Linked DNA regions of Homo sapiens: region 2 is linked to region 1. Evidence: promoter capture Hi-C in 16 types of primary human blood cells and fetal thymus (Javierre and others, 2016). All regions are on one chromosome and are shown on one strand. Each heading gives the region's core, a stretch centred on a gene start or on the middle of the fragment in contact. The rest is flanking DNA. Distances are from core to core; before and after follow the strand shown.

Region 1 (6,463 bases), core at 646-3,145:
TAAATATTCTCATTCTCAATGCACTTTTTAATGCATTTTTAATAATCAATGATCACACTAATTATTCATGTGTGATTTATTTGCTTATTTAACTGCTTTGCTTATTTAATCTCCACTAAAGACAAGAATAAAACACTGCCTGTAAAACCCTATCCCCATAGGGACTGTCTTATTTACAGGGCCTGGTAAGTGGAAGGCACTCAATAAACAGTATCTTTCTATTGAATGAATTTGTATGTGTTCTTTTAAATAAAAGGTACCTTAGGGCATCAAGGGTTATGTGAAATTCTCAACATTAGCAACAGGAAGAACTTTTAACAAAACCAACAGAGATTTTGGACCTGAGAATGGTTAGAGGGCAAAAAGTACCAGAACTAGAAAAAACAAAAACTACCTCCATCTGATTTTAGCTAACATTACAATTCTAAGAGCAAAGTAGTGCTGCTATTTTTTGACATTTGCATCAACAGGATAGATTCAGAAGTTCTCCAGTCTGCTTCCCTTTACAAAACACTAAATAAACAATAAATAAATTTAAAAATATGTAAAGGTTTTAAAATGCCCTAAAATTATTCGAGCAGGGAGTTCGAGGAATACAAAACATCTCTGATTCTGTAGTATAGTTGTATATCGTAGGTATAGTGACCCAATCAAATTATCTTGAAGTTTAGAGTCCAGAAAAAGTACTGGCCCTTTGAAATACCCTAGATGGGGCACTTATTTAATGAGCACTCGCTACATGGTATTTTCACATGTGCAGTTTTGCTGAGTAGCTGTAAGTATTTCAACTTTGCATACGGATTTGAAATCACATCTCTTAGATTGCAAACCTCATGCTACACCAGTGCAGAACTGTAACTCTTCAACTATCATTTCTCAAACGTTTCCTAACAATATACATATGTATTTAAAGCTTTTTAAAAGCCTGCATTCCTAAAGATGACACTCTAAAGAGCAAAATGACTTACGTAAGCATGTCATAACCTGAACTTGGATCTTTAAGTTCTTAGCTGGCTTTCTGAATAAAAAGTACCGATTCAGCTCCTAGCCAATCTGCTCAAACATGCTTCAGAACACTATGCCCGCGGTATTCGGAATTGAAGAGTTTTACAACAATTACGGGGGAAACCATAGTCAGCCTAACAAACTGAGCATGCAATTTCAAAGGAAGTAAAATCTTCGAAGAACCTTCTACCCCACCTGGAGGGCCTGAAAGCAGTGCAGTGCCCCTTGGCGAAACAAACCACAGTTCAGAAACCACTAGATGCACAGGCGGCCAGTGTCCGGCCAGCAAGGCCCAGCTATGGGGCAGGACGGTGCGGGAGCTGCCCCTCTCCCAGCACCCTCCGCCCACGCCGGCACTGTCCTTGAGGGCAGCGCCCCGGGGCTGGGGGCCTGCGCGCCAGCAGCAGCGAAGTTACCTCAAAACGCCCCGGCCTCGGCCCGCCACGGACGGCTCCGAGGAGGCGCCGGGAGCGGGCCCAGTAGGACCCTCTCTGACAGCCCCCGTCCCTCCCCAAGCGCTCTCCCGGGCTGCGGCTCCATCCCTGCGCCGGAAGAGGCGTCCCGAGGCCGGGAGGCCCGCCACGCCGGCACGGGCGCTAAGCCCAGAGTCTGGCGCGGCCCGGACGCCCGGGGAATCTCTCCCGCCAAGTCGCGGGCGCCCAGGCCGGCAGGCAGGAGGGCTGAAGGTCACTGCGGGGAGGCCGGGGGATGGCGGCCTGCGCTCACCATTCGAGCCGCGTTCGGAGGCCAAAACGAGGGCACGGCCGCGCCACCCAAGCCGGGAGCCGAAGCTAAGGCTGCGGCTGGAGCCCGCACGAGGGGACGCGAGCGCGCGAGGAGCCGAAGTGCTCGGTACATGGTGCTGAGGGAGCTTGGGTAGAATTTCTGGGCGGCTGTGGCCACGCCTCCACGCCGGTTGTCAGAAACCGTTCCGCCCACCGGCCTCCGCTCTTATCCAATCAACAGCCTCACACCGACAGGTGGGGCAGGACCAATCGTGAATGACCAGTAAAGAATGAGGGGGCGGGTTAACTTTCTAGTAGTAGTGTGGGGTGTAAGGCCTTCGGATTCATGGGAAACTAGAAAGAAGGGAATTATGGGAAAGGAGGCTCAGGTTATTCTTGGAGCCGGTCTGATTTTTACGTGTGGCTGTTAGAAGGCGGGAGTATTAGTTGGTGAATCAGGTCGTGTTTGGTTGGTGAAATATCCTAGAAAGAAATATTTATTGTTTTATTTATCATGTAATCACTCATTACACGTTCTTACTACTGAAATCTTTCTTCATTTCTTCCAGATTGTATCTTCTGTGTAGAAATTTTGGGAAGTGCAGCAAAGTGTAGATAATGAAATAGTAATTATTCATAATCCCACAACTGAAAAATAAGCTACTTACTTATTTCTTTTAACTTATCATTTTGAGATCGCTACCGTTTCCTTTCTCTTCTTAGCCTATACCCTCAGAACTCTTTTTTTTTTTTTAATGTATTGTGGAAGACGTACACAATTATAGGGAACCTCGGAATTTTTATTATTTGTATATCGTTCTCCCAGTTTTTTGCATAGCTAATTTATACATTTTCAAATTAAAGGCATATTGTTTTAATATAATAGTTGATTACAGAAAAGCAGGAATTGATATAAAATTGCATCTGAACCACAGTTTTATCTTTTCTCTTTTCTATTGCTTGGAACCAGATGACAGTAAAGAGAGAGCGATCGGATGTTCTTAAAATCAAAAGTCCAGAACCTGCAAAGCCAAATTTATGAGTCAAACTTACAAACTTGCCAAACCTTTTGGTAACATTATGTTATTTTGTGACTTATAAATTTGACACATATTTAAAATATAAAAATTCAAATGAGATTGTAATAGTTGAACTACAATCAAAACACACTAGAAAACTGAATGCAAATTCTTTAAAACATTGCTAATAATGGAATGACGTTTTGTTTTTGTTCTCCTCCTTCCCAGCAGGTATCATTATTGTGTATATCATTATTTTGATGCATCCTTTCAGTTCTGTGTATTTTTTGCTTCATACACTAATATACAAACAATGGTTTTAATATTTTACTTTAAAGTTTTACTGTTGCATAATTGAACTCTATGCTTTTAAGATATAGCCATGATCTTTTAAAATTAATCATATTGGATCACATGAATATGAAATATTTTATTTATCCAGTTTCTTAATAAAGAACATTTTTCTTTGCTATTACACAAAATTATTTAATGAACATATGTTTATCATTTCTTCATAGATCATCTCTTTCTTCATTGTGTGGTGCCCCTCTTTATTGTTATTGTTGCTTGTCCTTTTAAACTTTTTTTAATATTGATATTTCTCTACCAATTTCATATTGGCTATTATTTGCCTGCTGTATATTTCTCATTTTATTTTATTTTTTGTTTCATTTTTGTTTCGAGCATGTCTCTTATTTCTACCATACAGTTTAACTTTTCAAAACCCAAATTAATAGCCTTTTTATAAATAGGTTATTTTAATCCCTTTTAAAAATTACCTATGACACATATTATGTTCTAGAATTTTTCAAAGCACTTTATATGTATTAATTCTTGGAACACTCAAAAACAACCCTATGAGATAGGTCCTATTATTATTCCTGTACATAGAAGAGAAAAATTGATGCCCAGGAACATCCACATATTTATTTGTGTGTTTTACTTCGATTTATTAGTGAAACTGATTTTCTATCTGCAGTAGTAATATGAAGTTCCATTTTTAATTATTCATTTTATTTGAAGTAAAATATTCAGTATAATATGAAGATGCTATATAAATGACTAAAATTTAGGAAATATTAACTTAGCTAATTTATTTTTATTAATTCGTAATAAAACGTACATAAAGCCTTTAATAAAGGCTAGATATCTTCATTTTAGAATGACTTATGTTATCTATTTGAAATAATGTTTTTACTTTGCTTAGAGTTTGGGTTTTTTTTTTTTAACTTTGGACTTGTCTGATAATAATATTGACCTGCTTTCTTCTTGTTGATGCTTGCCTGGTTTGTTCTTGTTTGTTTTACTTTGCTTTCTGTTTAAGGTAGGGGATGTGATTGGTGTCCTGCTGAGGGACAAGGGAAAAGTGCAATGGTTTTCTCTTGCCTGTGTTCTAAATCTCAACACCTGGCTGACAAAATTGATTGCGAGGTTCAAATTGTATCAATCAAAATGTTCTCCTTATTCAAACTAAAGACTTTTGCAAATTCTAATTTAGGATACCTCCCAGCCTGGGAGATTACCAGTGGGTTTCCTAGAGGAAGCTTAACAGAAAATTTGCAAGATACACCCATAAAAGTCTCCCAGAAAGTAGAGCAAATATTCAAAGAGAAGGAAAATAAAAGAAGTAAATAAAATTAGAGAAACAGTTCAGTATGTCCAACATGTGAATAATGTAGGGGAAACATTAGGAAAAAATGGAATAAACCTTAAAAAAATAAATTCAGAAAAATATATTGTAGAACTAGCAGATATGAACTAGCCAGAATGAGTTATGTCAACAAGAAATGTTAGAATACCAAGGGCAAAGAGAAGAGACTGGAATCTTTCAGAGAGAAAAATAAATAAGCAAAGGATTAGAAATCCTTAGACTTCACAACAACAATATCGGAAGCCAGACAGCAGTTGAATGATGTCTTCAAATTGTTAACGGAAAATTATTTCCAACTTTATATTCTATACCCAGAGAAATCAAGTGTGTGAAGAGAATTAAAATGTTTTCACATGATCAAGATGTCAAAAAATTTACTTCTTATCTACACTTTTCAAGAAAACGCCTCAAGTAAGTGCTCCACCGTAACTAGGAGTAAACAAAGGAAGAGGAAATTATGGACTTAGAAAATAGGGTCTTCGACACAAGAGACAGATGTGGCATATTGCCTGGAGGAGGCTATGACAGCTGTGCACTTACCTTAGAGAGCAACCATCTCAGATGGAAGCAGGTCACAGCCTCTGGAATAGATTTACTCAAAAAGATAAAATTGCTAATGCCTTGAATATACTGAGAAGGAATTTAGCTGATTGGGGGAGAGTTTGAGGGTTACATTTATAAGTCTTAGAAAAGTAACCAAAGGGAAAAAGCATGACAGTTATTAAACTGACAAATAAAGATAGTTGTATTTTGCAGAAAAGGGAAAATAATCATTATCAAATTTGAATGGCCATAGTTATAATAAATCAAACGTTGAATATTGATCTAACTGAAATGTTGATGTAACTATACTGAAAGGATGGGGAGATGGAAAGAATGTAGAAGTTTGGAGAGATTCAGACACGGTGAAAAAAAAAACATTAATCTTCGTCTTCAGTAGTGAGAAGTCATGATCTAATACCTAAAACCATAAACTGGACAGACAGAAATAAAAACCAAGAGGTAATCTTTAGAGATGTGGAAGTATATACCCAGGAACTGGAAGGGATGCCTCTGTGCAAGGATAAGTGGCGGAGAGGTAGCAAGGGTGATGACTGTTTAGGTTGGATGTCTTGCAGAACTTTTTTATTCCTAAGACTAAGTGCACGTACAGAAACTTTGCAAAACACTAAAATTACCAACTCAGAAAGTTAACCAACCTCTCTCTCCATTCTCCAGAAAAACTTCAATTCCTCAATGTGCTGGATTCCATTACCCCTCAGAGACACTACCCACTCTTTTTCTTACTTTGTCTGGTTATTTCTCTTAATTGACCCATAGAATAAGTTAATACTGTAACTTTGCTGTCTCAGCTCTCATGTTAAAAACAAACAAAAGCTGCTCTGACTTTGCATCCCACTTCAACTCCCTCCTCATTTCCAGGACATATTTGATCACCATCTTCACTTCACTTCTCATTCTTTCTTCATCCTATTACAATCTGCCTTCAGTACATGTCACTCCATTCATACTGCCCTTTCCAGGGTCACCAGTGACCTGCAAGGTGCAAATACAATGAACAATTAGTTTCCTATGTTTGCAGCAGCATTGACACAATTGACACCCCTTCTCCTTGGAAATACCTCTTTCTCGCTCTTTGAAATATCAAAGTCTCCGTATTTCCCTCTCCCAAACTTCCACTTTGTTTCACTACCTATTCCTTCACACTGTTCTTTGACAGATTTTCACTTATAAATAGGGAAGGGCCTCAGGGCTCACTCCTAAATAGTCTTTCCTCTTTAATTCATTTTTAAAAATATAGTGGGACCTCAGGTACAGAGTGTTGAGTAAATACACTGACCTTATGACATGTTATGGAGTATAAGATCCATTCTTATTTTATTTAAATATTTCATTTCTATTCCTATTTTCTATTCATATTTTTACTCTCTTTTTTGATTTCAATAGTTTTGGGGAAACAGGTGGCTTTTGACTACATGGATAAGTTTTTTAGTGGTGATTTCTGAGATTTTGTTGCACCCATCACCTAAGCAGTGTACACTGTACCCAATGTTTAAGTTTTT
Region 2 (6,463 bases), core at 1,296-3,795, 7.3 Mb after region 1:
GGACACACTGGAAGAAGAACTGTCCTGGGCCACACATAAAATACACTAACACTAACTACAGCTGATGAGCTTAAAAAAAAAAAAAAAAATCGTGGGCAGGCGCAGTGGCTCACACCTGTAATCCTAGCACTTCAGGAGGCCGAGGTGGGAAGATTGCCTGAGCTCAGGAGTTTGAGAACAGCCTGGGCAACATGATGCAAAGCCCATCTCTACTAAAATACAAAAAAATAGCTGGGTATGGTGGCACACACCTGTAGTCCCAGCTACTGGGACGGCTGAGGCAGGAGAATCACCTGAATCTGGGAGGCGGAAGTTGCAGTGGTCTGAGATTGTGCCACTGCACTCCAGCCTGGGTGAAGGAGCAAGACTCAGTCTCAAAAAAAAAAAAAAAAAAAAAAAATCACAAAAAAAAATCTCATAATGTTTTAAGAAAAGTTTACAAATTTGCATTGGGCCGTGTTCAAAGCCATCCTGGGCTGCATGCGGCCCACAGGCCACGGGTTGGAAAAGCTTGCTCTAAATTTTCTCGAAGAGACTTATTCAACAGAAACGTAACAGGAGCTGCACATGGAATTTTTAATTCTAGAAGCCACATTTTTTAAAAGTAAAAAAATTTAAAAAAAGAGTGAAATTATAAAAATACATTTAACCCAATATATACAAAATATATTTCAACATGTGATCAACATAAAATAATATTATTATCCATACTTTTACTTTTTTAAACTAAGTCTTCACAATCCGTATGCACTTGACTCTTGTGACACATCTCAACCTAGACAGTGGCATGTGGCTCCTGTGTTGGGTGGCGAAGGTCTAGAAGTTGTTGTATTTGGGTAGATGCATCTACAGTGTCCCACAACCCAGTGTCCATAAAATAACAACCATTCTGGAAGAACAGGCAGCCAACACAGCTCAGGGCCCCAGAGGAGGCATAGGGTCAGCATCAACACTACCAGACACATGGAACTCCAAGTTTCACAGTGCCTTCCGAACAGAGACATCACCAGCAACTGACACGATCACCCCAACAGGCCCTAAAAAGGCAATGTCTGTCAAGCTGAAAGGCAACCTACCTCCCTGGGGGCCCAGCTTCCTGGGGCTTGACGAGGCCTACAGGGGCTTTTAGGCTATCTGGGAGACGAGTGACCAGTTCTTTCAGCACCTCCTGCTGGAATATTCTTTCTCAGCAACTTTGCATTTGATAGATGAGAAACAACCAGGCGGAAAATTAGTGACAGACTTGGGTCTGGATCCAGGACCGACCTTTGATCTCACTTTCCTTCCACTGTGACCACCCTCCTGGGAATGAGGACACCACTGGAAGGACATCTCAGTAAAGAAAGAAGTGCTGTAATCTAGGAAAACCACAGCCCACGTAGGAAAAGGACAGGGATTGGAAATGCAACAAACATTGATTGTGGGGGGTCAGTTGGTAAAGGCCACCCTGCAATGTTCATGTGGCAAATCAAAGTCCAAGACGGGATCCCCACTGGATTCCATGGCCTCAAATGCTTCCAGTCATCAACTTCCAGCTCCTGACAAGATCATCAATGGATTGGATGGCTCAGCATAAGTTGTTACTACTGTTAAAAGGACAAGAAGAGCTGTTGCTATTGGCAAGTGGCAGGAGTGGGCATTATCTTTCTATATGGGAACTAGCTTCCCAGTGGCACCTCCAGCAATTTACAGAAAGCCATCTGCTGATGGGATCTGTCCCCTCAGAGTCACAAAGCTCTCCCTAACAGGACAAGAAGATGCCTGGGGAGCAAAGCAGCCTGGAGGGCAAGGTCACCACAGGAGGGAGGGGGATAGCCCACCTAGGCGACACCCAGGGAAAGGCTGAGCAGGAATCCACTGAGGACCTGGGACAGTTTTGGGCAGTCAGCAACACATTCCATTTGGCCTGCTTCACCAGGGACTCCTGGCACTCAGCTGAAACGGAATTTGGGGAGGACAAAGTCTGAATCAACGTGCATCATCCATCAGTGAGCCAGCAGCCAGCAGGGAGGGTGACCTTCCCAGGGCACAGCAGTCAGATTCCCAGGATGCCAGGACACTGAATCAAAGGCATGGGGACTCAGGCTGCAGATGCTCCCACCCCACCTAGTGCAGACCATCAAAAGACTCAAACTAATGGTAACTGGGGCCAGGGTGATGACTGTCCTGTGAAAGCTAAACCCATACTTCTAGATGAGGTCACAGAGGTTGCAAAGTCACCCTAGAGAGTTTGGAAAGGAGCAGGTAAACGAGAGCACTCACATCTGAGGAAAGAATGCAACCACTAAGAGGGGGCTGAGAAAGTCACAGAACAGACCCAGGTCCATCCTAGATCCACGCTCCTTTCCTCTTCCCTCCACTGGAACCCTCTCGGAAAGCTGAGGATGAGCCTGGAGGACTCAAAAGAACTCCACTAAGATCATGACAAGGAGACACAGCCAGCAGCCTTCCCTGGAGGGACAGCACGCTCCAGGTAGGCACCAGCTGACTTCCTTCTAACTTCCAGAGGAATCCCACCATAAATGGCCATGGAGCTGCCTGCCTGCAAAGGAGCCCCAGCCCCAGGTCAGACAGGGCCTCATCCGAAGGACAGCCATTTCCGGGAGCCTCAGAAAATACCGAAACAGGCGCTCTACCTTTGGGATATACCTGGCCCAGTGGATTTGGCTCTGACTGTAACATCAGAATCCCTTCTCACCCCACCCAGACTAAGAGAATCCACATGTCTGGAAAGGCTCAGGTAAGGGTATTTTTGAAGCTCCCTGGTGGCTTTTTATGGACGGTGGATGGAAACCCAGTAAATGCACTGAGAATCCAGAGAAATGAACACCCACCTAAAGCACTGAAACACATGATCAGAGCAATGTGCATGGTCTAGTGAACTGTCAACACTCAAAGGGACCTCGAAAGACAAACACCCCAATCTCCTCCTCATCTTGAAAGCCCAAGCACAGAAGGGCAAAATGCCACCGGCCTCCTCCGTGAAGGGTGCCCCTCAAGCCAGGCTGCCTCTCTCACACAGCAAGAAGACACTGACTCCCTGCTGAGGTCAGAGCACTGGCGTACCCACACCTGTGTCATCAAATGAGGGAAGCTATTACTAGACCTTTCCTCCCTATACAACCCACAACATTCCACAACGTGTTGTGCAGTTTAGCAAGAGAGACGAGGGTCTGCTTTACCTTTCCTGCACCAGCGACATCACAAGTTCACTGGAGGCAAAGTAAGTCTTACGCTACCTCAGTGTACTCCAACTCTCATAGAGCTCATCTGATAGAAGAGTCAGTGATGACAGAATATTCTATTTATGCACTGTCAGTATAACATTGAGGAACTGCTTTTTTTTTTTTTTCTGAGACGGAGTTTCGCTCTTGTCACCCAGGCTAGAGTGCAGTGGCAGATCTCAGCTCACTGCAACCTCCGCCTCCTGGGTTCAAGCAATTCTCCTGCCTCAACCCCCCAAGTAGCTGGGATTACAGGCACCCGCCACAACACCTGGCTAGCTTTTTTTATTTTTAGTAGAGACGGGTTTTCACCATGTTGGCCAGGCTGGTCTCAAACTCCTGACCTCAGGTGATCCACCTGCCTCGGCCTCCCAACATGCTGGGATTACAGGTGTGAGCCACCATGCCTGGCCGAGGAACTGCATTTTTACATGTTAATTTTAATTGATTGTGTTTAAATAGCCACATGCAGCTAGTCCACCCTATTAGACAGCACAATGCAAGCATGACTCTTCCTACTACTACCATGTGCCTATGCAGACACTGGAAAAATACATAGGAGTAGTAGAGGCCAAGTAAAGAGACCACAGTGGATTCTCCTCTGCAGAAGCCTTCTCTGGAGCAGGGCAAGGAAGGCTGTAGGGAGGCATATAATGCACATTACACAGCCCTCCTCCACAAGCAACAGAGAGACAGCTCTTTCCCAAAGTGCTATCTACAAACTATCACCAAGGAACAAGCAAAAAGAGTTTGAGAAAGAACTGTAGACTTGTGTCAGAGCAGAGCAAGAATGAGTTGTGCAAATCAGCTAGACCAACTGCTCACTTTACAGATGAAGAAACTGAGGCTCAGAAACGTAAAGAAACTTCCATAAAAATCATAAATCATGGGGTTGGAGGTAGCGTGAAACTCAGCCCAAGACTTTTTTCACTACAACTGATTTCCTCAGAGGATGATAAATCTGTAGAAATAGCAAGAAAAATTGGCTGTTTTCAATGCAATGTCAGGCAGAGCAGAAATAAATTACTGACTCATGCCAGAAACAAATGGCTCACCACTGCTCCATTATAAGCATGGACACAGTAGAAGAGGAACCCACACACACACACATATCCCAGGAACCCACACAGAGAGTGAAGGAAGAATGCCAGGACTGGCTTTGATTTCTTCCCAACTCACTGGAGTAATCCAATAAAGGTTTGCTGACAGATAAGCCTAGGAATTTGAGCCTTCATATGTTCTTGCTCACCTACAGAAGAGTCACTTCCACAACATCAGAGTCTTGGAGATGTGACCGGAACAAATGGCAGACTCAAGCCCCAAACATGCAGGAGCATCCTGGTCGTCACCTGCCCAAGAAGCTTCCTCAGGAAGTCATTCTCAGCCAATTCCCTGAAACACTGCAACCCAGCTTTGATTGGCCAGGCATCTCTTCCACATGGAGTTGGTCTTCCTCACTGACTACCCCCAGGTCTCCTACACAAAGATCTGCCTGTCCTACCAACTAGATTGTAGACACTCCAAGGCAATAAACTGCTCTTCCATTCCTTTAGGAGACCCACTATCCTGAGGGCCAGGTATGTATGTTACTAAGGATTGGCCACAACAAAAGTTACAAATCCTTGAACATATGGGGTTTCTTTATAGATCTAAAGTTGATGCTACCTTTATAACACTGGAAAGGTCTCACTGTTTACAAGGGTGAAACACATTATCAGAGCAATGTGGGCCGCACATCCCTGGAAGGTACCGCTGAGAAGGTGAGAAAGGGGAAAAGATTCTCTCACTCAGCCTCAAAACTGTCCCCCAGTATCAAAGTCATCTCCTCTCACACAGCATCCCTAACTAAGGTGGCAGCCCCTCTGCTTATCTGGAAAGAAGTACAACACACCTACCCTCCACTGACCTAAAGTGTGCCTCCTCCATCTACTGCCAAGTGACACTTTGCTCCTTCAGTGAAGCTTTCAGCAATGCCTCCCAAGCACTAAGGCCAGGCCTTTCTCTGCACTCCATCAGCACTTCAGACACACAACTCTTTTGGAACTTGTTACATTACCCTGCAATGATTTGTTGACAAACTTGTTCTCCTTTCCTGCCCCAGCAGACTGGGGACAGAGTAAGTCTAAGCCCTCATTCATCCAACACTCTTCAGGGAGGCTGGAATCTGGGCTCTCCTTCTCTCCCTGCTCTCAGTGCTCTCACCTGTATTCTAGGATCCAGTTCTTCCTCCTCTCTTGGGGACAATTTGGCCTCACTGCTGCTGCTTCCACCTCCTCCAGGCTCTTCTGCGACTGGGCTCCTAGGGACTTCATCCTCTACAACTTCAGGCCGCAGCTCCCCCTGTGGGGTCTCCCGCCCTCCTGGAACCTGTCTGAGCTCAGCCATGCTGACAGGGGGAGGGCAGAGCCCTATGCACAAGAGAGGACTGACATGCTGGGACCAGGGCCCCAGCTTGGGGCTTCCTGGGCTCTAGATGGCCAGGAGAAGAGTTTCTCTTCTCAAAAGGCAGAAAAGGTGGGCACAGGAAGAACCTCACACTAGGTTAGAGGTTGAGATTCAAGTTGTCAGTGGGGTTCCTAGAGCTGAAGCCTTGTCTGTGCAAAAGTTCTTCCCTTCCCGCCACAGGGAGTCCACTGTGACAAACCCGGAGCAACAGCTCCAAGGCAGGGGGCAAAGGGGGCTTGGATCCTGGACCGAGGCCTGCTAGGAGGAGCACCATTCGGGAGGGTGGAGGCAGGCGCCTCCAGGCTGTGGTGGCAGCTGGAGAGAGAAGGCTGGGCCCGAGCTGAGGCTGTAGGATGAGCGTCTCTGGGGAGCTGCAGAGAAACAAAGGCCAAGTATATGGTCATGTCAGCATCAAAACCGCAGCCACCAGCCCCTTCCAACTCTACAGCCTCCCAAAAACTACACTCTCACCACGCCCCCACCCATGTATTCCGACCAGTCCCTACCTCAACTTCTCTCCTTAGCCCTCAAGGACTTTAGATTCTACTCTTCCCCCGTCCCAGCTCCTCTCGACCCAGGCCCTCCTCAACCAGCGCCTTCGAGACTTTCCTCTGCACCCCTAGGCTCTCCTCCATCTCCTGTGGTCTCCCGCTCGTCCCACTCCACCCCAGCCCGGCTTTGCGATTCACCTTGTAACCCCGAGCCCCACCCCACCTTCTCTGTCCAACCCGAGACATCTAAGCCTCCCGTCTCCAATTCCACACTCTTCCGCAATCCCAAGGACCCTACTCCCG

The links. Contacts are between HindIII fragments. The CHiCAGO score rates a contact against its expected background, and 5 or more counts as called.
Region 2: a contact is called between a fragment that was not itself captured here and the fragment with the promoter of FH in region 1, in 1 of 17 cell types (erythroblasts). The highest score is 5.9, in erythroblasts.

The regions. Positions count from the first base shown.
Region 1 is chr1:241,517,860-241,524,322 of GRCh38, forward strand. FH (fumarate hydratase) reads right to left here and starts at 1,896. Exons shown (of 10, transcript NM_000143.4): 1 at 1,732-1,896. The coding sequence starts at 1,863. RefSeq lists silencers at 1,331-1,600, 1,776-2,058, 1,881-2,010 and an enhancer at 1,674-2,270. The HindIII fragment of the contact is 3,380 bases long and covers 912-4,291 here.
Region 2 is chr1:248,819,327-248,825,789 of GRCh38, forward strand. It overlaps SH3BP5L (SH3 binding domain protein 5 like), which reads right to left. Exons shown (of 7, transcript NM_030645.3): 2 at 5,427-6,040. The coding sequence starts at 5,609. Among named protein-coding and RNA genes, the nearest start is that of SH3BP5L, 3.4 kb to the right of the region's middle. RefSeq lists enhancers at 1,384-2,583, 6,261-6,320, 6,383-6,463. The HindIII fragment of the contact is 4,075 bases long and covers 509-4,583 here.